6 separate regions of the Homo sapiens genome follow, and all the other regions are linked to region 3. Evidence: promoter capture Hi-C in 16 types of primary human blood cells and fetal thymus (Javierre and others, 2016). All regions are on one chromosome and are shown on one strand. Each heading gives the region's core, a stretch centred on a gene start or on the middle of the fragment in contact. The rest is flanking DNA. Distances are from core to core; before and after follow the strand shown.

Region 1 (3,995 bases), core at 970-3,469, 690 kb after region 3:
TCACTCTTTGGGTCTGTGCCACCTTTAAGAGCTTTAACACTCACCGGGAAGGTCCGCAGCTTCATTCTTGAAGCCAGCGAGACAAAGAACCCACCGGAAAGAACCAACTCCGGGCCTCCGGACACCATTGGGACCTGCAATTGCTGGGACCCGGTCCCGGGAGGATGCCCGAGAGATGCCCACAGGGCCCCGGGCAGGGCAGAAAGCCGAAGCCGCCGCAGGCTGCCAGGACTAGGGCAAGCTTACGTCCACTCAGGCGGTCAACAAATAATTATCAGACTCCTTCTACGTGTCATGCCGTTGAACAAGATCGACAAGACCCTGGTCTCACAAAGCTTCTGTGCACATTGGAGGAGCCGGGTGACTGCAAAGAAAGGGCGTAAGATTGTTTCTGATAGGGCCTGGGATGTGAGGAGCGATGATAGAGTGCGTGCTCTCAGGAGAGACCTTGGAGCTGGTCTTGAAGTGTGAGGAGGAGTCGGTTGGAGAAAGAGGGAAAGAACAGGCCGAGCCGAGCCAGAACCGGGTATAGCCAGAAGCGCGAAGGAGAGAGCCAGCACTCGAGGTCAGAGGAAGCGCAAGGTGGCACCGGCCCCTCTCGCTGCGCTTTTTGTCCTTCCAGGAGGGGGCGCTGGTCCACCGACTGGCCCGGCAGTTCCCCAGTAGCACCGGGGGTTTCCTGCCGCGCGCGTCACCTGGTTCAGTTTAGAGCCTCCAAAGCTGCAAGGCAAGGCGAAGATGGGCAGTGGAGACAGAGTAGGGTGGGGAGGGTCCAAGCTGAGGAGCCTGTAGAGCGTCTAAAGTCATCAGTGGCACCTGTTGTTTCATTGTTCGTGTAGGCAGCTTGTATGTGTATACATATTTTAAACTTATTACCTAACATTTCAATCACAAAAGCAATTAGAGATAAAAGGTCCATGACACCCATGTACCCATCACCCATATCAATAACTATCACCTTCAGTCCTCAGTTCATCTACTCCCTCTTTTCATTCATTCGTTTATTAAAAAAAAACAACAACAAAAAAAAAAACAGTCTTTAAAAGCAAATCCAAGACATTGACTCACTTCTGTAAATACTTCAGAGTATATCTCTAGCAGGATTATTTTTTAATTAAACATATCCACAATACCATTGTCATAACAAACTAATAACCCCTTAATATATTCTAATTGTATATATTGTTTTTAAATATTTTATCTTCAAAATAATTCGACTTCCACAGAAGTTTTTGTTTTGTTTTTTGTTTGTTTGTTTCTGAGACAGAGTCTTGCTCTGTTGCCCAGGCTGGAGTGCAATGGCATGATTTTGGCTCACTGCAACCTCCGCCTCCTGGGTTAAAGTGATTCTCCTGCCTCAGCCTCCCGAGTAGCTGGGACTACAGGCGCCTGCTTATAGACAAGGATAATAATGACAATGCTTATCTGATTGTGTTGTCGTGAGGATTAAATGAGTTTACACATATAAACGCTTAGAACTGTGTCTGGCACATAAAATTTCTTAATAAATATTTTCCATTATTATTACAGCTCGTATTTTTTAAAAATTAACCCGTCTCTTTTAAAAAGACAAAAAAGCTTTATTTTATCTTGATTATAATTCTAGGCCAAGCACACTGACTTACGCCCTGTAATCCCAGCACTTTGGAGACCAACGCAGAAGGATCGCTTGAGCCCAGGGGTTCGAGACCAACCTGAGCAACATAGGGAGACCCCCATCTCTACAAAAAAATTAAAAATTAGCCGGGTGTGGTGGCACACACCTGTGGTCCCACCTACTCAGGAGGTTGAGGCAGAAGGATTGCTTGGGCCCAGAAGGTCGAGGCTGCAGTGAGCCATGATCACGCCACACTGCACCCCAGCCTGGGTGACAGACCGAAATCCTGTCTCAAAAAAAAAAAAAAGAAAAGAAAAGAAAATGAAAAAAGAATGCATACTCTGAGCCTGAGAGCCAGATAACTTTTTGGACACAGCCCTGACTGCTGTTCCTCCATGGTGTCCTCACCACCAGCATAAATGAACTGGTCAGTCAGCTAGTGTACCCTGGTGTGGTTGTGCCTGTTGTTAAACGTTTAAAAATAGTTCTATACTGGTTTTCAAATAGCTTCCTGCCCCAGCCTGCCCCCAGTGTTCTGGCCCCTCCCAGGGTCTCCAGATCTGCCCATGGCCCAGCAACTAAAGGGTTTACACCTGGTGCAGCAGGTGGACGGGCGGCCTCTGCACTGGGGGCTGCAGCTGTTCCAAGCAGCGGAGGCTCAGGCCAGAGCAGCCGCTAGAGATTTAGGTCCTCCTCTTGGGTGAAGAGGGAGAGAAAATGAAAGCATGGGGAGCTTCTCATTTTCACACATAAAGACTGAATTTCTTTATAAATATTTCCTATCATTATTAGTATAGGTAATATTGATTTCAAATTAGTCTCTTTTTTTAAAATACAAAGAACTGTATTTTATCCAGGTTAGAGCTGTAATACATGTGTATTATTAAACATTCAAATGAAACAGAAATATTTGCCTGTGGGGAGAATGTCTGCGGTGGCCTCTGGTGACAGCTCTGCAACAGAACTGAGACAGCCACCTCGCATGGTGCTTGGGAGTCAAGCCAAGCTAACCTGGAGGTCTTTCCTGTCAGTCATCTCGGGTACAGAGGAGGAAGAGGTGACCCAGGGTGGAGCAACAGATGGTGCATGTTCCAGACAGGCTGCTTTTTGTCTGCCTGTCCCAGGACAGGGCAGGGCCCCCGCCAGCCCTGCTTAGACCTTTAGAAGAGTTCAAGGGGAAAAAGACTTTACTAGTCAAGGGCTGGGAAAACTGTGCAGGGGAATATCTGATCATTTCTAAATGTTATCTTGAAAAGAAAAGAAAGAAGCTTTATTGAGAAACATTCCCGCTGGTGTCTGCCTCTCGGAGCCCTGCACCTTCCACTCCCTGCTCTAGAAAGAAAACCATTGATTCATTTAGGTCCTGCCAAGGAGACAAGCATCCCATGATCTTCAGCCAGAAATTCCCCTGGGCCACATGAAATCAAACTATCCATGTCTGTTTTGTAAGTGGCTTTGAAGTTGAGACATTGTGGACATATTTCCATGTAAATGAATATAGGAACACCACCAGCTGCAATGGCTGCATGGGATTCCACTGTACAGAGGGAGTAGAACTTATTTAGCCAGTTGTCTAGAAAATTGCTGCAGGGTACATCCATATAATTAAATCTTTGTAAAATTTTCCAAGGGATAGTTTCCTGGAGTGTGGATGGCTGAGGCCTCAGCTCCAGGGCCTGTGCACTCCCCACTAGCTATGCTTCAAAGAAGGTGAAGACACTTGGGGGTGGGGGGCAGGAATTCGGGGGGTGGGCAGGAATTTGTGGGGGTGGGTGACTGTTTAAGAAATAAATCCTGGGCCAGGCATGGTGACAGCACTTTGGGAAGCTGAGGCAGAAGGATCACTTGAGCCCAGGAGTTCGAGACCAGCCTGGGCAAGACAGGGAGACCCCATCTCTATGAAAAACTAAAAAGTTAGCCAGGCATGGTGGTGTGCACCTGTAGTCCCAGCTACTTGGAAGGCTGAGGCGAGAGGATCTCTTGAGCCCAGGAGACTGAGGCTGCAGTGAGCTGTGATCTCGCCACTGAACTCCAGCTTATGTGACAGAGCAAGACCCTGTCTCAAAAAGAGAAAGAGAGAAAAAAAGAAAAGAAGGAAAAGGAAGGAAGGAAAGAAAGAAAAAATAAATCCTGGGGCCAGGTGCAGTGGCTCACGCCTGTAATCCTAGCACTTTGGGAGGCCGAGGTGGGTGGATCACCTGAGGTCAGAAGTTCAAGACCAGCCTGGCCAAGATGGTGAAACCCCATCTCTACTAAAAATACAAAAATTAGCCGGGCATAGTGGCGGGCGCCTATAATCCCAGCTTCTCGGGACGCTGAGGCAGGAGAATTGCTTGAACCCAGGAGGCAGAGGTTGCAGTGAGCCAAGATCACCCCACTGCACTTCCAGCCTGGGCGA
Region 2 (4,109 bases), core at 821-3,320, 670 kb after region 3:
CAAAAATACAAATACTTAGCTGGGTGTGGTGGTGCACACCTGTAATCCCAGCTACTCAGCAGGCAGAGGTGGGAGGATCACTTGAGCCTGGGTGGCAGAGGTTACAGTGAGCCGAGATCGAGCCACTGCTGTCCAGCCTGGGTGACAGAGTGAGATCCTGTCTCAAAAAAAAAAGAGAGAGAGTGAGTGAGACCCCCAAAAAAGTGATCAGGAACATTTTAGGAGAGGGAAAATTTGAATATGGGCTGTATTTAAGATGACATCATTGGCCGGACACAGTGGCTCACGCCTGTAATCCCAGCACTTTGGGAGGCCAAGGTGGGTGGATTGCTTGAGCCCAGGAGTTCGAGACCAGCCTGGGCAACATGGCAAAACCCTGTCTCTACTAAAAACACAAAAATTAGCTGGACCTGGTGGCGGACACCTGTAATCCCAGCTACTCTGGAGGCTGAGGCACGAGAATCACTTGAACCTGGGAGGTGGAGGTTGCAGTGAGCCCAGATCATGCCACTACACTCCAGCCTGGGCGACAAAACAAGACTCTGTCTCAAAAAAGAAAAAAAAATGACATTGTTGAATCTGTGTAAAGCTTCTTGGACGTGAGGATGGTGTTTGGCCAAACAGGAGTACATGTTCCTCCAGTACTTAGCCAGGAAGGTCATGATCTGCTGTTTACCTTCTAATGGGTCACTAAAAGTGTGTGCGTGTGTGTGTGCACACACATGCACATGTGTGTATGGAGAAAGCATGCACACAGATAAGGTAAGATGTATTTTGGTGAATATTAGTGAAGGGTATGTGGTGTCCATTACACTACTTCTCTGAGGTTTGAAATTTCCTAAAATAGAAAGTTGTGGGTGGCAGAAATAAAGTACAAAAAGGGGATGGGGAGAAAGAGAACTAACTTTTTTCGCTGTGTTTTTCAGATTTACCTAATAAGAATTAACTGGGGTGCTCATTCAACCTTGAAGGTAAGCAAGGTAAATTATGTGCACAAACAAATGTTTTTAATTGTTTGAATTTTTTTCAATGAATCATTTATCAATTATGGTTTAAGAAGAATGGCTAGCTGAGCATGGTAGCTCATACCCATAAAGAATCCCAGCACTTTAGGAGGCTGAAGGGGGAGGATCACTTGAGCCCAGGAGCTTGAGACCAGCCTGGGCAACATAGTGAGACCCTATATCTAAAAAAAATGAAATAACAATTAGCCAGGCGAAGTGGTGCATTCCTGTAGCCCCAGCTACTCAGGAGGCAGTTCAAGGCTGCAGTGAGCTCTGATTGCACCACTGCACTCCAGGCTGTGTGACAAAGCAAGACCCTGTAGAAGAAGATGAGGAAAGGAGGAAAGGAAGAAAAGAAGGAGAAGGAGAAGAAAGATGAAAGAAAGAAGAAGGAGGAGGGGAGGAGGAGGGGGGGAGGAGGGAGAGGAGGGGCAGGAAGAGGGGAGGAGGAGGAGGGGAGGAGGGTGAGGAGGACGGACAGGAGGAGGAGGAAGGGGAGGAGGAGTAGGGAAGGAGGAGGCGGGACGAAGAGGAGGAGAAGAGGAGGAGGAATGGTCAATACTTAGTAGACTCAAGTGCAATTTAATAAGGCGCCTTACATCACTTTATCGGGAACAGTTGCCTTGGTCTCTCTGACCAAGAAAAGAGAGAGAAGCGGGTTTACAAAGTGCTAGGAAAGAAGACACAATATTAGAATGGGTTAACGAAGCAAAGAACAAGCCTTCCAAAAGTGGACAGTGGAGCCAGTGGAGAGGAGGGGAGGTCCCAGGAGAGGGGACAGGAATCTGTGTGGTGATCCTTGCCCTCATCAAGGCTGGGGAACCCTGACTGGGTGAGCACCACTCGATGTCAGGTATCGTCCGAGTCTCTACAGCACTTAGTTTTCATCTTCGCAACAACTCATGAAGCAAGCACTCTTGTGCGGCCATTTTATGGACAAATAAATTGAGGCCCAAAGAGAATAAGTAATGTGACCAAGCTATTAAGTGGGACAGTCTGGCTTAGGTCTTCCTTATGCCTCACTGTCTAATGAAATCAACTGGAACTTCTTTTAAAAGTGATATGGGGGCCCTACTCCCAGATATTTTGATCTTCAGTTGATTGAGGGTGGGGACCAGGCATCGATGTTTTGAAACCTCTCCAGGGAATTCTAGCTAAGGCTGAAAACACTGAGAAGAGTATGTCCCACTCTGATGTGCATATGAATTGCCTGGGGATGTTGTTGAATTTCGGATTCTGATACAGTTAGTCTGGGGTGGGGACTGAGTTCTAACATGCTCCCAGGTGATGCTGATGCTGCTGGTCCAAGGACCGCACTGAAAAGTGAGGCACCTCACCCTTCAGAATGCTGAGGGGTTTCCTATATTCACCGGGAAGATGAGCAGGTGACCTCTGAGTCATTTGCTTTCTTTATAAAACAGTCTTCTATGAAGTCTAGATGCTAGGTCTGAATCTACTAGTTCACCTTTTGGCCAATGACGCTTAGGGACTCTGAAGTGGTTTTAAGCCTCTGTGCTCCTGCATAGGTGATTTATTTGTTTTTACTAGATAATTGGTGTATTTAGGCACTCAGCTGTCCACACAAAAGAGAAACCTTGACTGCACTGACTTGGGGACTTGTTTTTGTTGGTGGGTTTTTTGTTTGTTTGTTTTTTGAGACAGAGTCTCACTCTGTCACCCAGGCTGGAGTGCAGTGGCGCGATCTTGGCTCAATGCAACCTCTGCCTCCCAGGTTCAAGCGATTCTTGTGCCTCAGCCTCCCAAGTAGCTGAGATTACAGGTGCATGCCACCATACCCAGTTAATTTTTGTATTTTTAGTAGAGACGGAGTTTCACCATGTTGGCCAGGCTGGTCTTGAACTCCTAGCTTCAGGTGATCTGCCCGCCTCGGCCTCCCAAAGTGCTGAGATTACAGGCGTGAGCCACCGCACCTGGCCGGGAAGTCCTTCTACTAAAAATGCAAAACTTAGCCAGGCATGGTGGCATGCCCCTGTAATCCCAGCTAGTCGGGAGGCTGAGGTAGGAGAATTGCATGAACCCAGGAGGCAGAGACTGCAGTGAGCCAATATTGCACCACTGCACTCCAGCCTGGGCGACAGAGCAAGACCTCATCTCAAAATATAAAAAAAGAAGTTCAGAGGGAGGCAGTTGTTGGATTAGGTCTGCAACTCAACAGCTTCAGGGCCAGCTTCTCTGCAGCTCTCTTGGCCTCTTCTTCATGGTTGCAAGCCAGCTTCTCCTGCTCCACCTATCATGTCCATCTTCAGGGAAGAAAGCAGGAAGGGCCATTGCAGCTGTGTATCTCCATTTGCCAATAAACCAAATACATTCCCAGAGCCCCATCCTACGTCCCACAAACTTCTATTTACATCTTATTGGCCAAAGTGGGCTCCATGGCCATTTGTGGCTGCAGAGGAAGCTGGGAAGACAGAGAAGGGATTGTTATGCTTGGCTGTGACCAATTGGGGTTCCATTAGCAGAGAAGAAAGACAGGAAGGATGTGGGTGAGACAACCTGGGATGTCTGATTATTGCACCCTTACCAAGCAAAAGCTTCTAGGAAGGGACAACAAAAGTTCAAACACCGCAGTGTCTGTTCATCTTTGACCCACTGAGGAACTACTCCTTAAAATGGGTTTAGGTCGTACATCCTCCCTTTATTCAGCAAATATTTATTGAGCACACACTCTGTGCCAAGCAATGTTTGGGGCAATGGAAATACATAAATCTCATGGAACTTACAAAATGCTGTGCAACCTAAAACACTTGCAGATAAGGAGACCTATTGCATCAGGCTTCTGGAGCGAACAGCCTATGAATGGACACCATATTTGGCTCTCCATTTGCTGAGAGCTGGAACGGGTGATGCTACAGATTTTATTTCTAACCAGATAGCTAGGGAACTTACACTTACCGCGCCTCCACATGATCGACCTCACCTTGTATACTCACAGCCACCTCAACAGCTGGGTGCTGCAGGTCTCTCTGCTTTACAGCGGGGAAAACAAAGCCTCAGCCAGGTGAGGGAACTTGCTCGTGATCATGCAGGTCTCAAGTGACTGGGGACTTTGAGCCCAAGTCCGCCTCATTTCAAAGCTTATGCTGG
Region 3 (4,234 bases), core at 1,689-4,188:
ATCAGATATGCAAAGGGGTGACCCACCCTCCAAGATGCTGTGTATAGCTGACACTGACATGCCAGGCAGGCCCCCAGCCTAGGTAAGCACAGGCTAGCCTTTGACTGTGATCTGAAGCACATATTCTTGGCTCTCTCTTTCGGTGAGGGTCAGTAAGCTATTTTATATGCAAGGACCACATTCTGCTCTTCTGATTCATACGTGACAGACACATTTGGATAAAAGCAGAAATATAACAGGACTGAAAGATTAAAACTTGCTGTCTTAGCATACTTAATATTCACTGATGCTTACACATAATGTAAATATCTCTTTGTTTAAAATGAGTATAGGCTGGTCTCTGTGGCTCACGCCTGTAATCTCAGCACTTTGGGAGGCCAAGAACGGAGGATCACTTGAGCTCAGGAGTTTGAGACCAGCCTGGGCAACACAGCAATACCTCCTTTCTACTAAAAATAAAAAATGAAAAAAAAATTAGTCAAATGTGGTGGCGCACGCCTGTAGTCTCAGCTACCTGGGAGGCCGCAGTGAGAGGATTGCTTGAGCCCAGGAGGTGGAGCCTGCAGTGAGCTGCAATCATGCCACTGCACCCCAGCCTGGGTGACAGAGCAAGACACTCTCTCAAAATAAATAAACAAATAAAACAAGTATTATCTTGACTTTAAAGAAAGAGACTTTCTTGTGACATATAAGCAAAATATGGTCAAAACAATTTGACCAAGGTTGAAAATGGACTGGAATCACTTCTAAGGAGCCAGCCTAGGTCTGTCGAATCAAGTTTGCTCACTAATAATCATACTTTGGTTATGTCGGATGTTAACATTAGAGGAAGAGGGTGGGGGATATAAGGGGATTCTTTGTACTATTTGTGAAACTTGTCTAAAATTATTTCAAAATTAAAAAATAACAAACAAAACCACATCCTTTGCTCCTGAGCCCTGTTCGCCCCAGACATTATGTGATGAACTCACTCCGTTCTTTAAGATCCAGCTCTGCAGAGCATCTCAGATTCCCTGTCCTGAGGCAGGTACTCCTGTATGAGCTCTTAAATACTTCTGCATTTACCTACCACCTACTGGTATGGTTTTCTGACTATATTTCATCTTCTTCGCCTCACGTGGAGTTTCTTTTAGAATGGAAAGTTTTCTTCCTTTCCTCTTTGAATCCTAGCACCAAGGCCACACTCGGCACTGAATACCTGTCTCGAATGAATGAATAAATCAATCTTGTTTGAACAAATCTTATTAGTTTTGCTTTTTTAAAATTATGGTAAAATGTACATAACATAAAAATTTCCATTTTAACCATTTTTAAGTGTATAATTCAGTGACATTAAGTACATTCTAAAGTTGCGCAGGTTTTTTTTTTTAAATCAGTTCTAAATGGTTTAAACTGGCCAGTATTTACTAGAGCTGTTAGATCGACTTAATTTGGACCCATGAGACTCGTGACACTCAGAATTAATCTAATCCCATTTACACCAGGTGCCTCCCATCAAAATCTGTTTGATCAAGTGTGGAATTATTTCATCCCATTGGAACCAGCTCTTGAATCAATCAGAACTGGCTCTGCCAGGCTCCGGGCCAGTAGTCGGTGCTCAAAATGGTGTTTCTTTCTTTGGCCTAATCTCTTGAGTAGCCTCTTTCCCTTTTGTTAATTTTTTTTTTTTTCTGGAGGACAATCTTCCCTGGGAGCTCCCTTCTGCTCCCACGAAGCGCTCTGCACCCAGCCCTGGTGCTGCCTGGCTCTGGGGCAGGGAGCTTGCATTCTGCCACCTCCTTCATTGTCCTCTCGGTATACCTGCACTTTCAAAACAACCCCTGCAGGCAAGCTTTAGAGGCAGCGATAAACAAACAGGCTGACTGAAATTTAGGGAAACGCCTGTATCTGGACAGCCTCTTCAAATATTTGTCACCCCCTCCCTGCTCTGGGGAAAGAAGAGACAGTTCCTCACAGTCACTCTATTTCCTGCCTTCCCAGCTCTGAACACCTTGGCTCGAATGTAAAGAATTTGGCTCTGAATTAGGACTCAAGAAACGGGGCCCTAGCAATTTTCCCTCCATTAACTAAACGCGTCACTTTGGTCATGCCCTTTTGGGGGCAATAATTTCCCAATTCGTAAAATGAAGGGATCAAAGTTTGATTTTTATCATTACTAATGAGAAGAATTATTATTTTTTTGCAGCAGGCTTTTTTTTCCCCAACAAAATATTACTCTGAATAAGACAAGAAAGAATCCCGAACGGCTCTGGCCGTCAGGGTGTGTGTGTCTCCTCCCCATGCTGTCTAACCCCCGTTGGAATTTGGAGGGCTCTTGTCCTTTCCCCTTGGCCTCAGAAGGAGCCCAGCGCGTCCTACCTTGCGTGGGAGTGTGTGTGTGACCAGGGCTCCTTCCTGCCCTTAGAGTCACCGCCCCCTTCTCGCACAGGTTTACAGCACCACTTGCCTCGCCCACTCCCCGCTTTGCCTCCGCCCCATCCTGATGCTGCCGGAATGGCTGTTCCAAATGGAAGGATGCCCGCGTCCGTCCCCTGCCCCAGTCCTTCAACAGGTCCCCACAGACCTCAGGATAAGATGAACGCGGAATTCAGGGCCTGGTCTCAACCGCCCTCTCCCTTTTCCTCTCACTTAGACGACCCTGGCCAGCTGGGCCACTCTCCACTCTCGCCCCCTCCCGCCCTCGTGGCCTCTGTCTAGACCGTACTCCCTCCTACTGGGTGATGTCTCTTCCCCTGGGACCCAGGGACCATCCCGTTGTTGACCTCCGGGGTCAGGGGTGCGGATGGGGGCCGGCCCTTCCCGCGGTCGCCGCCAGGGGGCGGCAGGAGCGGCTCCAGATGACAGCGGGAGGCCGCAAGAGGGGAGGGAGGAAGGACCGAGGGAGCGCGGATCCCGCTCTCGGATCGCAAACTCTGAGCCAGAGCTCTCCGCGCGCGCCTGAACCGCTGGCCGCCCGCGCAGCCCGACGCGGAATCGGGGCACAGCGGGAGCCCGTGCAGGGCGGGCGCGGGGCGGCTGGGCGGCGGTGGCGGCCGTCCATGCGGCGGCGCTCGGGGCTGCCCGGCGCCGGGAACCACGCGGGGGCGAGGCGAGGCGAGGCGGCCGCCGGTCGCTCCGGGACGCGGACCGCCAGGTGAGCAGAGCCGCGCGCCCCGCGTCCCCTGCGCGCCGCCCGCGCGGCCCCGACCCGGCTTCCGCTGCCCAGGCTCCGGCTCCCGCTCTCTGGCCGGCGGGGCGGGCTGGCGCGGGCTACCCAGTGGGTGTGTCCGGGGCGCCGCGGGCTGCGCCGCTCCGGGCTCGGGGAGCCAGCGCGCGCCTGGTCCGTGCGGACGGCTGCGCCTCCTTCTCTGGTTCTCTTCCTTGCTGGGAGTCTTGCTCTGTGCTGGCGCCGGCGCTCATCCCTCCACCCTCGACTCTAGGGACAGTCTTAAACTCTAGGGACAATCCACCTCAGTCGTCCCCGGGTCGGGGCCCCGTGCTCCCCGGGTCGGGTCGGAGGGGACCGGCGAGTGCACACCCAGCCCGTGCGCCCCCCACCTCAGCCTCGCCTCCCTCCCGCCTGGGGCCCGAGAGCCGGGCAAGTCTCGGTCAGCGCTCCTTGAGTCCTGGCCTGGGGCCTCGGATCTGTGTGTCTGTCTGTCTCAGTTTAGTTGCTGCAACCCAGCGAGCGCCTGGAGCCCGAGTGGATGGGTTGTTTCCGCCAACTCTGGACACTTCCTCAAGTGCAGCCTAAGTACCTGCGGCCCCTTGGCGCACTTACAGAAGTAGCTTTTGCACAGCGAGCTCACCTTGGAGCTCTACAGATCTGGAAGTTAAGTTTTCTTTTTATTTGAAATAACATCAGCCCTCACTTGGGAAGGGGATTTTAGGGCGTTCTCGGGCCCACCTAAGTATCTGGAATTTGTGGTCTAGTAAGTTTTTTAAGCAGTCCGCACCCAGCACCGTACCTCCCAGCCTCCTTTGCCGTCTTACTAAAAGTGCATGCTTGCTTCTCTTCCTGTCTCCTTTGCGATCTCTACCACGCTGCGCTTCGCCCTTTTCGGGCTATGAGTCTAAAGCTTGGACGTGGGTAGCAATCATTGGATGCCTGTTGGAATTTGGAATTAGAGAAATAGATACCCGAGAGAGATCTAAGGAATCGCCTTGTCCAACCCTCCTTTCACAGTTGGAGGCACCCAGGACCCCTGACAGTCTGAAGATTTTTCAAGGATCACACAGCTTTTAAAATCCGCGT
Region 4 (4,183 bases), core at 655-3,154, 610 kb after region 3:
GCCAAGGCAGGAGGATCGCTTGAGCTTAAGAATTCAAGACCCAGCCTGGGCAACATGGTGAAACCCCCATCTCTACAAAACATACAAAAATTAACCGATTGTGGTGGTGCGCACCTGTGGGAAGCTGAGGTGGGAACATTGCTTGAGCCTGGGAGGAGGAGGTTGCAGTGAGCAGTAAGCCATGATTGTGCCACTGCACTGCAGCCTGGGAAACAGGAGTAAAACCTTGTCTTTATTTAAAAAAAAAAAAAAAAAAAAATGAATAGAACTTGGAGTTGAGGGAGGAGCATTTCTGGAAGAAGGGACAGCACCGTGGAGGGAAGATGATGTTGTAGATGGGCTAAAAGAAGGCGCAGGAGCAGAGCACAGAGAGAAGAACAGTGATGCAAGATAAGGCTGGGCTGCAGCATCTGGGGGAGGAGGCCTCTATGATGGGATATATATATATATATATATATTTTTTTTTTCCCCCCAAGATGGAATTTTGCTCTGTCACCCAGGCTGGAGTGCAGTGGCGTGGTCTCGGCTCACTGCAAGCTCCGCCTCCTGGGTTCACGCCATTCTCCTGCCTCAGCCTCCCAAGTAGCTGGGACTACAGGTGCCCACCACCACGCCCAGCTAATTTTTTGTATTTTTAGTAGAGACGGGGTTTCACCATGTTGGCCAGGATGGTCTTGATCTCCTGACCTCGTGATCCGCCAGCCTCAGCCTCCCAAAGTGCTGGGATTACAGGCGTGAGGCACTACGCCCAGTCTTTTTTGCCTAGAGCAATAGAAAGCCATTGAAGAATTTTGAGCCATCGTTGGTAATCTAATCTACATTCTGAAAATACTGTTCTAGCTGAACAGAAGAGAAACAGGAAGATCAATTAGAAGATATTTTATTAGTCCAGATGAGATCTCATGGTAGCCTGGCCCTGGATTATGACAGTGGACATGAAGAGAGGCGGAGGAGGTTAAATAAGATTTGATGACGGGTTAGATTTGGGGGGATAGGAAGAGAGGAGGTATCCAGGATGATTCCTGGGTTTCTGATTACATGGATGGTGGTACCATTTACTGAGATAAGAAACACTGAGGCCGGGGTTGGGTTCAGCCTTAGACAAGACATCTGACTAAAGCTGGCAAGGAGGTAATTAAATAAGATTTGATGACGGGTTAGATTTGGGGGGATAGGAAGAGAGGAGGTATCCAGGATGATTCCTGGGTTTCTGATTACATGGATGGTGATACCATTTACTGAGATAAGAAACACTGAGGCCGGGGTTGGGTTCAGCCTTAGACAAGACATCTGACTAAAGCTGGCAAGGAGGTAATTAAATAAGATTTGATGACGGGTTAGATTTGGGGGGATAGGAAGAGAGGAGGTATCCAGGATGATTCCTGGGTTTCTGATTACATGGATGGTGGTACCATTTACTGAGATAAGAAACACTGAGGCCGGGGTTGGGTTCAGCCTTAGACAAGACATCTGACTAAAGCTGGCAAGGAGGTAATTACATATGAAATTCTAAGGCCAGAGGCAAAGTTTGGCCTGTCAACATAAATTTGTGAGTCATTCACATATGGTAGTTGAAATCATGGTCCTAGGAAATTGCTCATGAAAGGAATATAGTGCCCAAAGCAGGTCTACTCTTATTCCTTAAGAAATTCTGATATTTAATAGCCAGGTAGAGAAAGATGAGACAGAAAAGAAAACAGAAATGAGCAGCCTGAGAGCAGGAGGAAAGCAAGGGGAGTGTGGTTCCCAGAAGCTGGGGTGAGAGTGTTTCAAATAGGATGGAATAGTGCCAAGTGCTGCCGAGACATCTGAAAAGAGGAGGCCTGGGAAACACCCATTGGATTTAGCAACATGGGGGTCTTGGTGAGCTAATTTTAAATTTCCTCAATGGAATGATGGAGGCAGAAGCCAGATTGGAGATGGTTGAGGAATTAGTGGGAAGTGAGAAAATGGTAGACATTATATGGACCACTTTTTTTCCTTTTTTTTTTCTGAGACTGGAGTGCAATGGTGCGATCTTGGCTCACCACAACCTCCATCTCCCAGGTTCAAGCAATTCTCCTGCCTCAGCCTCCTGAGTAGCTGGGATTACAGGCATGCGCCACCATGCCTGGCTAATTTTGTACTTTTAGCAGAGACGGGGTTTCTCCATTTGTTCAGGCTGGTCTGAAACCCCCGACCTCAGGTGATCTGCCCGCCTCAGCCTCCCAAAGTGCTGGGACTGCAAGCATGAGCCACCGTGCCCAGCCGCACCACTTTTGAAGAAGTGTGATTCTTCATAGAGAATAGCCCCAAATCTGTTCTTCCTCAGTTTCCACCCTTGACCCTTTTTTGCTACTCAGTAAGCTGAATTGATCTTGTAATTCAGTAGTGAAAGGTCTGCAGCTTTGCCCTCCCTGCAGCCATGGCACCAGCCAGCCCAGTGTGGAGTCTGCAGGGGGAGCCCAGCTGGAGTTTGGGCCACTCCAGCCCCTCTGTGCAGTTTCTGATTCTACAGGCCAGAGCTCTGGGAAGGCCCATTGTAGGAACGCGGCTGAAAAAATGAGTTTAAGAAAAAGTTCTTATATTTTAGTGGTACCTACTGAAAAGTTGAAGGATACATATTTGCAATGTGACACAAGAGAAGCCATGAGCTGATCCTTGTTGAAGCTGAGCAATGGGTACATGGGGGTTTATTATATTGTTCACACCACTTTTGCATATGTATACATTTTTCCATAACAAATTATAAAAAGTTAAATTTAGGAATTCTATAAACCGAAGGTGCAAAGAGCCAGTGGCCATCACAGGTCCACTATGTACATAGCACTTAAAACAGGACCTTCGGCTGGGCGCAGTGGCTCACGCCTGTAATCCCAGCACTTTGGGAGGCTGAGGCAGGCGGATCATCTGAGGTCAGGAGTTCAAGACCAGCCTGACCAACATGGTGAAACCCCGTCTCTACTAAAATACAAAAATTAGCAGAGCATGGTGGTGAATGCCTGTAATCTTAGCTACTCAGGAGGCTGAGGCAGGAGAATTGCTTGAACCCAGGGGGCAGAGGTTGCAGTGAGACGAGATCGCACCATTGCACTCCGGCCTGGGCAACAAGAACGAAACGCCATCTCAAAAAAAAAAAAAAGGTACCTTCTCTAAACCAGTCCTCCTTTGGATTGTGGGTTTCCAGGTGCCAAGGGTAGCTGAAGAAATTCTATTTCCAGATGCCACCCTTTCTTCTCCTGTTAACTCCAACACCTTGTTCCTTGCCCCCTTCTCCTTTCGTACCCGCCTCCTGAGTACACACTAGAAATCACAGGTCTGACCCCTATGGGCCTCATGAACTTGAACAAGTTCCCTCCCATCTCTGAGCCACTCTGAAAAATGGGGATTATAACATCTGCTGTGCAATGTTGTGACGATTAAATTTGACAGTGCACGTGCGGTATCTAACACAGCCCACAGCCTCAGATGCCCAGGAACTCAGGAAGGTCATAGAAGTGAATGAAGCTGACCAGGTACATGAGAAAATCATGTGACCCTCTTAGCTTTAGCTTTGCCACTTGTAGTAGACATGTAAGTAGAGAGAATTATAAGAAAAATTCTGGGCCAGGTGCAGTGACTAACACCTGTAATCCCAGCACTTTGGGAGGCTGAGGCAGGCAGATCGCTTGAGCTCAGGAGTTTGAGACCAGCCTGGGCAACATGGCAAAACCCCATCTCTTAAAAAAAAAAAAAAAAAAAAAAATATATATATATATATATATATATATATATATATACACACACACACACACACACACACACACACACACAAGCCAGGCATGGTGGTACATGCCTATAGTCCCAGCTACTCAGGAGGCTGAAGCAGGAGGATTCCTTGAGCCCAGGAGGTTGAGGCTGCACTGAGCCAGGATCACACCACTGCACTCCAGCCTGGGCGATGGAGCAAGACCCTGTCTCAAAAAAAAAAGGGGAGGGCTGGGAGGGGAGAAAAAATTGGATAAGAAAAAGAACAATGCAAGTATGATAAATGATATAAATCACCCATATTCATAAATAAAGGGGTAATAAACTGAGACTTAACCTCAGTGTTGGGGGGCAACAGGGAGGGGTGGGGACTGGGGCAAATCAGAGCATATAGGGTCCATCTGAGAGGGACAGCCATCCTGGGCTCCAGCCGATTGCTGCCATGAGGGAGTGTGAA
Region 5 (4,221 bases), core at 273-2,772, 540 kb after region 3:
AGCTAAGAAGCCTATATATTCCCCAATGTTGTAACTCATTTACACAGATTTTAAAGCATTTTTCTTGAACATTTTGGAAATACAAGATTTGAATATTTCACCCACCTTTTTTTTTTTGATGTTCCAAAAAAATTTTAAGAAATGAAATCATGCCTTAACAACATGGCAGAAACTTGCACATAAGAGCACAGTAAATATGCAGTCAGCCTGCATCTCTGGGTCCACCCTTCTTGTGTTTCTCAACAGTCATTGTTTTTGTTAATGTTGGATCACTGCTTCTTGTACTTAAACTAGTTGTTTAGGTAAGTACCCTCTTGCAAAGGCTTAGAGGTGCCATCTTGTGGAGAAAAATGCAAACAGGCACATTTGGCTGTGTGTTAAGGAAATGACAAAGATGCCGGCGTGAATCTCCATCATTGCCTTCTGGCCATGGGGACGGTCCCGTGAGAGCCTTCTGGGGACCTGCATTGGTAGACACAGGCCATCTGCGCTCAGGAGGCCCTGTAAATCAGGCCAGTGTGCAAGCAACCTCCATCCTGGATCAGAGTTCATCAACCCAACTCACTATTGCCTTTTTGCTGATAATCTAGCCTCCAGAACTCTGCCTTATAGGGTGTAGGCAGTGTCTCTCTGCTCCATTCTGCAAGGAACTTCCTAGTCTTGACCCCTTATCAGCCCCAAACCACAGCTTCTAACAGACCCATCCCACGTGGTTTTTTCCTGCTGCCAGCCCCTCCTGAGACACTAAAAAATTACAATAAAATCTGGCCAGACATATTATGATCTCTTTAAACACAATTCACCATACGGCTCTACACATTAAAAGTAAAGTGAAAGTCTAGAGGTTTCTAGTATTCTATACAAAAATATGGTTACCTTACTTTTATAATAGAGCAATTATCACTGTCAAAAGCTATTTCAGGCCTCTCTCCTCCTTCCCCCATTTCAATCCATGGAGGAGGAAAATTATGAAAGTAAAGCATTAGAATTTTAGAGTTTGGGATATCCCCACCCTCCAGAGAACGATGACCCTTGTTGGAATTGGGGGAGGTGGTAATTATCTTACAGAATATGATATGTTTACCTCTCGGGACTCCTTTCTTCAGATTTGTAAACATAGCTGCAGTTGATTCTTACCCAGTTTTATCCTACAAGAGCGCCAACATTTTCTTCCAGTTGAGTCCCTTGATAAGATGCTATCCTATTATGAACTAGGATGAGGTACTGAAAAGTGACAGCCATAAGCTTGATTAAAACCAGATCGCTCGTTTTACAATTGCTTTCATTTAGGAAGCCAAAATACCTTTTATGCCATGGACCATTTCTTCTCTTCAAATGAATGGCATCGTCAATTTGATCTTCATTGATTCCTGTTTCCAATTTAATTTTGTGTATATACAGCAAATTTCCCTCCCTTTAAACATGGCAGGATTCTTCATATCAGGGCTGTATCTCTTTTTAAAAGAAAAATTTTGGCACCAGAAGGGACCTTAGAGATGAGCCAGTTCGAAGAGCAGGTTGGTCCTGTAACTTTGATCTTTTGATTCTTCAACCAGCTGCTCTTTCATTCAACAAACGCTTATTAAACACCTACCAAGTCGCAGGTACTGTGCTCTTTGCAATACATAATGATACTCCTGCTGAAGCTAAGCCAAGAGGCAATCTTAAAGAACTCGAGAAGGTTTGATAGCAGTAAGGAACTATTTTTGGAAACTGGATAATTAAGTGTTCTTTGCTTATTAGCTTCTCTGACATTTACAAAGGCTGTTTGTGCACTTCTGTGGAACTACCATCATTTTAAAGCTTTCTGGGGAATCTGTCATGTGCTCCTCGGTGTCCCATGAGCTTTGGAATAAAGAGCAGTGATTCTCAACTGAGGGTGATTTTGCTCCCATGGGGAACATTTGGCAATGTCTGGAGACATTTTTGTTTGTCACACTGAGAGGGATGCTCCTGGCATCTGGTGGGTAGAAGCCAAGGATGCTGCTAAACATCCTACAATGCATAAGGCAACCCCCATAAGAAAGACCTTTCAGGACCAAAACATCAGTAGAGCTGGAGTTGAGAAGCCCTCACCTTGAGGAAGAAGAGCAGGCAGGAGGATGAGAAGCTAGGTTTCTAAACCCTGACAGTCCTTCAACCAAAGCAGTTCTGCTCTTCTCATTTTGCATAGTGGAGCTTTGGATTTCCACATGAGATTTTATTTTTGAAGTATATTTTTTTCTACTTAAAAAAGTTGAAGACTACTGTGGTAGAAGACAACTCTCTGCCTTCTGTTTTACAATTGAGTCACTTTGGAACAAATCAAGTGGGTGTATATGATACAGGATGAGGGCAGTCAGGGGTAGATTTGGAAGCATCTACCTGAGCCTTGGTTTTGGCTGCACAGGACTCGACATTTACAAACAATATTGAAGTGATTTGATTGTGTCTGACTTTCAATTTAGACCAGGGATTGGCAATTTTTTTCTGTAAAGGGCCAGATCTAAATATTTTAGGCTTTGTCGACTTTCCTGTTTGTGTTGCAACTACTTAATCTGCTGTTGCAGCACAAAAGCAGCCATAGACAATAACTAAACAAATGGGAGTGTTTGTGTTCTAATAAATCTTTATTTATAAAAACAGGTTGTGAGCCAGATTTGGCCTACTAGCTACAGTTTGCTGACCCCTGATTTAGACTGTAAATAGGAACCTTGTTTGTTTTACCTTCATGTCTCCGCTGCCTACCACTGAATTGGCACGTAGTTGAAGTTGGCTCAGGAAACATTTACTGAACTATATCGAAGGTCAGTTTTACAGGCATAAGTGTTAGAAGATTTTAATGAGAATAACAACTGGAAAAAGATCCACCCAGAATAGATTAACTGTTTCCTTATGTTGAACATTTAGGATGTTTCCAATTTTTTATTAACAATACTGTGATGAGCCCTTCATACAGAAACTGTTGGCCTGATTTCTTATTTCCTGGCATAAATTCCTAGAAGAAGAATTTACTGGATCAAACGGTCTATATTGCTAAATTGCTTTCCAGGAAGGTGGTATTGATCTACATGCCTAACAGTAATAACAGGAAGATATTTATCATATACAAAGGATTTCTTTCAACAGAATGTCATGAATAAACGTTTTGGCATCCATATGCATTTCCACGAATTAGCTCACCGTAAATATAAGTAAATTGGTGTCAGCTACTAATCATTTTAATATTCTCCCATACTGTTCTACCAGCATGATTATTAAGGCACGCTGTTTTACCTGTGGGGGTCATCTAGCCAAACAGTTGAGGTTACCCTATCTCATGTGTTTACTGAGCACACACAGACACATCTGCTTCCCATTAGGGAATCAGGACCTCCACTATCTGAATGCCTGGCACCAGCCTACCCTGCTGTGAAGGACAGAGGCCTCCTCCCTGTGAAATTCACCTCCAAATATGTCATCCAGATTGCTCATTTCCCTCAGGAAATTTCATTCAGGTTAATTTTGGCACACAATTGGGGGTAATTCTTGAGCAATTTCTCCTGTGATGGCTTGCGATGTGTAAAATTTTCCTACAACGTGTTGCAGAAATCACTGGAAAAAATACAAAGGACATCTGATGGTTATCCACTGGTCTTTGTAACAGCAAGAAATATCTATTCTGAACAGCAGTACACGATGAGCAAGAAACATAAAATAAAGGTAGATCAGAGAGTAGATGTTCTTTCTGGCCTTTTTCGACAGGTACCGTTTGAGCAGTGAGAATGTAGAAGCTGTATGAGGTGTCTTGACTTTATGGTGAACCTTGGCCGATTTTGTTTTGTTTTGTTTTTTGCACTTCAAAGTTTTCTGAATTTCACCAAATGAAGAAGAAAATATTTCTGACTAAGAAGTAGTAGAAAGTGTTACAGAAGTACGGGTGGGTCCGGGTGGTTGTATGATGATGAGATTTACTTAAAAGTGAATAGACTTCAGACAAAATAAAATACATAAAGACAAAGATGACAAAACCCAGCATTTTCTGAGAAGCCACCATATTGCAGAATTCTGCTAATTACATTCTATGTTTGCCTCATTTGATTTTCCCAACAGTCCTAAGGGGTAGCTGCTCCATCCCCATCCAGGCAGAAAAAAAATCCCAGGGCTCAGAACAGCTCATCAAAATGTCCAAAGATACAGCACTCGTCAGCAGCAGAGACAGCACAAGAACGCATATTCTCCTGCCCACCCAAAGCAGTGGTG
Region 6 (4,223 bases), core at 768-3,267, 640 kb after region 3:
AAAGGCAGCATACCAGAGGGGTTAGGAACCAGGACTTTGTGTCAGGTGTCCCAGCTTTGAATCCCAGCAGTGCCACTGTCTATCTGTGACCCTGGAGAAGCTATTTATATTTCTGGAGCCTCAGTCAGTCAACAGTATTCATTGAGCACCTACGGTGTGCTCATCTAAGTACTTGGGTTACATCAGTGAGCAACACAAATATCTCTGCCCTCAGGGGGCTTATGGCCTAGCATGCTTTCCTCATCTATACAATGCTGGCAGTGATGGTACCTTATGAGGTTATTTTTAGAAGAAATGAAATTGTGTACATAAAGTATGTAGCACAGTGCCTGACACAAAATAAATGGTGGCTGCTGCTATTATTCCTGTTAATAAAGCCAGTTTTTCTGTATTTGACAGTATCAGAAGCAGAAATTTTAAAAGTTGGAATTGTTCATTATGAAGAATAAATAATACTGAATACTTTAATAATTGATGAATTACATTTTCCCTCACTCTTCCAAAATTGAACGTGAACCCCACTAAGAAAATGTGGAAATGACTGCCTTGGTTTGATTATCATCAGTATTGGAGTTCTTGAGCCACTTAGCATTTGGCTCCCAGGGCTGGCTGGTTCTCCAAGGACTGTTTGGCTTATGATCATGATTTACACATTATCAAGACCTCTGGCTCCATATAGAATTTTATTTCTTTTAAGTAGCATTAAAAACTGACCTTGGAAAAAAATGCACTGCCTTATCCTTGTAAATTGACACAAGCCCTTGGGAAAGCAATTTGGCAATAAAAGTCAGGAACCATAAAAATGTTCCTTTGCCTTAACCCAGTCACCCCACTCCTGGGGATTCATTTTAAGGAAATAATTAACAAAAGAAAAAAAACAGCCTTTTTCAACAGAGATGTTCATGACAGCAGGATGGTTACAGATATTATGGCATATCATAACTCAGTAAAATATAAGGTGACAATGACAGCGATCGTTAGGAAGATGTGAAAGTGCATGTGGTATAATGGCAAGTGAGAAATAGAATGTGAAAATATTCAAACCCTATCATCTCTGCCACTTCAATGTAGAGTTTTTATGCAAAAAGCATAGGGAAATGTTTTTCTATTCAAATTCCCTTTAATGTTTTTTAAAATATAGAGAATTCAGAAAGAATTCAAGTACTTCCAGTGCTACTCTGGTGAATATCAAAGTTAGACACATTTGCTAACTGATCCCAGCTTGACTTCTCATGAGTTTTCTGGCTCTAGGTGAGTGATTTAACCTCTCTGAGCCTGTTTCCTCATCTGAATATGAAGGTAATCATATCAACCTCTTAAGGTTGTTACGAGGTTTTCATAAGATGCTATACATAAAGAGAATTACCCATTGCTTGGGATATGGGAAACACTTAATAAATATTGGTTCCCATCTCTCTATGTTTATTTTTTCTGCCAGCTATTTCTATCTCATTACTGGTAGTAAAATACATAGGACCTAAACCCCAAAGATAATTCAGCAGCGACTGTATATAGGACACCAATTATACCAAATATCCATAGATGTGTGAAATCATATCAGATCATTACAGTCACACACGTGAAGATAAGCAGTACAATCGAACTCATATGTCTACCATTCTTAGAAGAGAAGGGAGCAGGATTCAGGGCCTTTTTTGCTTGTGGCTTCCTATTGACTTTAGACCTAAGCTTAAAGAACCAAGGGTGGTATGAACCCTGGCAAAGACAACCTTTATTTCTGCTAAGATTAGAAACAAAGGATTTGTTGCCCTGTTGTCCAAAAGGGTCAAGATACAATTGAATGTGGCCAAGGGTTTTGGTTCTGGATTTATAAGGATGTCAGGGCCTGCTGGAAATTCCCTGCCCTAGGAATTTGACATTATCCCCAAAGAAAATGAAATAAGAGCATGCTTATTTCTTGAAAGGTAAGTTTTAAACATTAACTGGCTTCAGAATATAAAAATAAATGTTCCTTCTCACCATATGGGTTGAATGAAAGTTGGTATTTCGAATACCCCACCAGCCTGGTCACAGTGATTAGTCCAGGAGTAGACATGTGATCCAACAGGTGGATGTGTGACCCAAGCTGAGCCACAGAATCCTTCCCAAGGACATTTCATTTGTGTTTTAGGGAAGAGACTCACTAAGAGGTTGTGAGCTCAAGGGCTGGCAGTGGCCCTACTGAGGCTTGTGCAAAAAGCCAGTCTGAGAGAATGAGACCTAAGTCCATGGAGAGGCAGAGACCAAGGAGTTTCTGGCTTTAGAGTCTTTCTGACTCCACCAAGAAAGGAATATATTCCATTTCTGCTGCTTCCCAGATCCCTGGAAACTAACTAGGAGTATATCAAGCTTAGGGAGTCTTTTTCTACTCTGGAGGCACAGTAGCCCAACTCTTACTCATGAGAGTCTACCAAGTCTATTATTTATGCCCAGAATTATTTCCTTTCTTCTCTATCAATTCTGAGTTTACTGCAACCTTAGATTGTCTTAGTTCCGGGGAGATCTGTCACAGTCTCTAGTCTTCAGGAGCAGCCATTTTGTCTGCCTCTGGGTCTGGATTGCATTTTATTGATTGCATTTATTGCAATAGATATATTTATTCTCATCTCTTCGCGAATCAGTGATCCACAAAAGTGCAACTGCAGGAATTCTTTAGGTACAGAAACATGCCTAATTGCCATCACTTCTCACTGAAAGCATTTATCCCTATTAAATATTACTTTTTCTCATGTGTGCTTTTCTCTGTGGATTACATTTTATCTACTATTTGAATTACTCCATCTTGTTTCTTATTGTTGATTTTCACCTGATGTATCTTCATCAATTTCTTAATTTTCAAACGTTCTATGTATTTTTAAGGTATGTCTTTCAGGACTATTTTTGTCTTTATTTTTACCCAATCTATAAACCTCTGTATTTTAAGAGTTAAATTTTAACCATTTATATTTATTGTAATCACTTATATGTTTGGACTTTTCCCTACCATCTTATTTTGTGTTTTCTATTTTCATGCTTTCTTGCTTCTTTCCTCTTTCCTTTCAACATGCTTGTTATTAGTCAGGTTTTCTTAATTCCATTTTTTCCCCTCCAACATTTTGGAAGTTATAAATCTTCTAGTGGTATTTCTTCTGTGATAAGATTCAAATTTTTAGCACAGAATTTTAAACTTTTATGTCTCCATTAGTGTCAAGTTATCAGTGACCACATCCTCTCCTAAAAGAAAATAGAAGCCTTCCCCTTTTATTTACCTCCACTCTCTCAATCTACAATATCTCCAAAAAGATGTTGATATTATCTGGATCTAGCTCCAGATTAATGTTAATTTTATAGAAAATATAGATTTAAATTTTAAAATAGTTTTCTGCTTTCCCCCCAAAGATTTTTTTATTGAAATATAATTCACGTACCATAAAATTTACCCTTTAAAAATATAGAATTCATTGGTTTTTAGTAAATTCACAAAGTTGTACAACCATATTCAGCATTATCCAATTCCAGCACATTTTTATCATTCCAAAAAGACACCTGGCATCCATTAGTAATAACGGCTTTTATTGGTGTCTTTGCCAGCTCCTTCTTTTATGTCCTGTGTCTTCTTCCTGGTTCTTTTTTATTTTGCTAAAGACTATAACCCAGGAAGTCTTTCAAATAGGATTTGTAAGTGGTAAGGTTTCTGAGCCCTTGAATACCTGAAAATGACTTCATTTTGCACTTTGACACGAATGCTTCTGGCAGATGACTCACTGCTTCCTCTTCCTTGGCACAGTCAGGCCAGCCCGGCTGCTCTTGGCCAGTAACTCAGCTGATCACTCATTGTCCTGAGGCCTCCATCCTGATCTCCATGTCCACCACCAATATAGCCTGAAGCACATGAGTTTTGCTAGAGCTCCTCCTCTGTGTGCATTTGGACTATAGTTTCCTTCTTCAATTTGATCTCATCTGTCTTTCATTGTTCAAAGATTCCCCATAATTTCTGGTCCATCAAGGCTGATTGCCCTTTCTTGTCTTCAAATGCTGTCTCATGCGCGTGTGCAAACACACACACACACACACACACACACACAGAGATAGAGATACACACACATGAACACATTCATTCACTTTCCAGACGCACATATTCTGCCATTTCTGAGCATTTACAGTAAGAGAAGGCTGAGACGGGCTCATTCTCCCTGAAGTACACAATCTCTTCAAGGACTTGCCAAAAATAGCAGAAGATAACT

What was found. Contacts are between HindIII fragments. The CHiCAGO score rates a contact against its expected background, and 5 or more counts as called.
Region 1: a contact is called between a fragment that was not itself captured here and the fragment with the promoter of CT62 in region 3, in 5 of 17 cell types (endothelial precursors, M1 macrophages, M2 macrophages and 2 more). The highest score is 8.6, in endothelial precursors.
Region 2: a contact is called between a fragment that was not itself captured here and the fragment with the promoter of CT62 in region 3, in 1 of 17 cell types (endothelial precursors). The highest score is 5.1, in endothelial precursors.
Region 4: a contact is called between a fragment that was not itself captured here and the fragment with the promoter of CT62 in region 3, in 2 of 17 cell types (M1 macrophages and endothelial precursors). The highest score is 5.6, in M1 macrophages.
Region 5: a fragment that was not itself captured here is called in contact with the fragment with the promoter of CT62 in region 3 in 1 of 17 cell types (endothelial precursors); the score reaches 6.4 in endothelial precursors.
Region 6: a contact is called between a fragment that was not itself captured here and the fragment with the promoter of CT62 in region 3, in 1 of 17 cell types (endothelial precursors). The highest score is 5.4, in endothelial precursors.

What each region holds. Positions count from the first base shown.
Region 1 is chr15:71,802,272-71,806,266 of GRCh38, forward strand. No RefSeq gene overlaps it. Among named protein-coding and RNA genes, the nearest start is that of NR2E3, 6.3 kb to the right of the region's middle. RefSeq lists a silencer at 479-773 and an enhancer at 2,494-2,563. The HindIII fragment of the contact is 1,287 bases long and covers 1,577-2,863 here.
Region 2 is chr15:71,785,352-71,789,460 of GRCh38, forward strand. No RefSeq gene overlaps it. Among named protein-coding and RNA genes, the nearest start is that of NR2E3, 23 kb to the right of the region's middle. The HindIII fragment of the contact is 2,967 bases long and covers 588-3,554 here.
Region 3 is chr15:71,112,566-71,116,799 of GRCh38, forward strand. CT62 (cancer/testis associated 62) reads right to left here and starts at 2,939. Exons shown (of 4, transcript NR_168260.1): 1 at 2,359-2,939; 2 at 1,066-1,198. It overlaps THSD4 (thrombospondin type 1 domain containing 4), which reads left to right and starts at 2,906. Exons shown (of 18, transcript NM_024817.3): 1 at 2,906-3,133. RefSeq lists silencers at 2,720-2,769, 2,806-2,983, 2,830-2,889, 2,920-3,059, 3,210-3,299. The HindIII fragment of the contact is 2,227 bases long and covers 1,830-4,056 here.
Region 4 is chr15:71,723,831-71,728,013 of GRCh38, forward strand. The region is part of intron 8 of THSD4 (thrombospondin type 1 domain containing 4); the gene reads left to right. Among named protein-coding and RNA genes, the nearest start is that of THSD4-AS2, 34 kb to the left of the region's middle. The HindIII fragment of the contact is 7,320 bases long and covers 1-4,183 here.
Region 5 is chr15:71,651,542-71,655,762 of GRCh38, forward strand. All of the region lies in intron 7 of THSD4 (thrombospondin type 1 domain containing 4), which reads left to right. Among named protein-coding and RNA genes, the nearest start is that of THSD4-AS2, 38 kb to the right of the region's middle. RefSeq lists an enhancer at 4,000-4,221. The HindIII fragment of the contact is 558 bases long and covers 1,244-1,801 here.
Region 6 is chr15:71,758,116-71,762,338 of GRCh38, forward strand. The region is part of intron 15 of THSD4 (thrombospondin type 1 domain containing 4); the gene reads left to right. Among named protein-coding and RNA genes, the nearest start is that of NR2E3, 50 kb to the right of the region's middle. RefSeq lists an enhancer at 3,113-4,223. The HindIII fragment of the contact is 660 bases long and covers 1,688-2,347 here.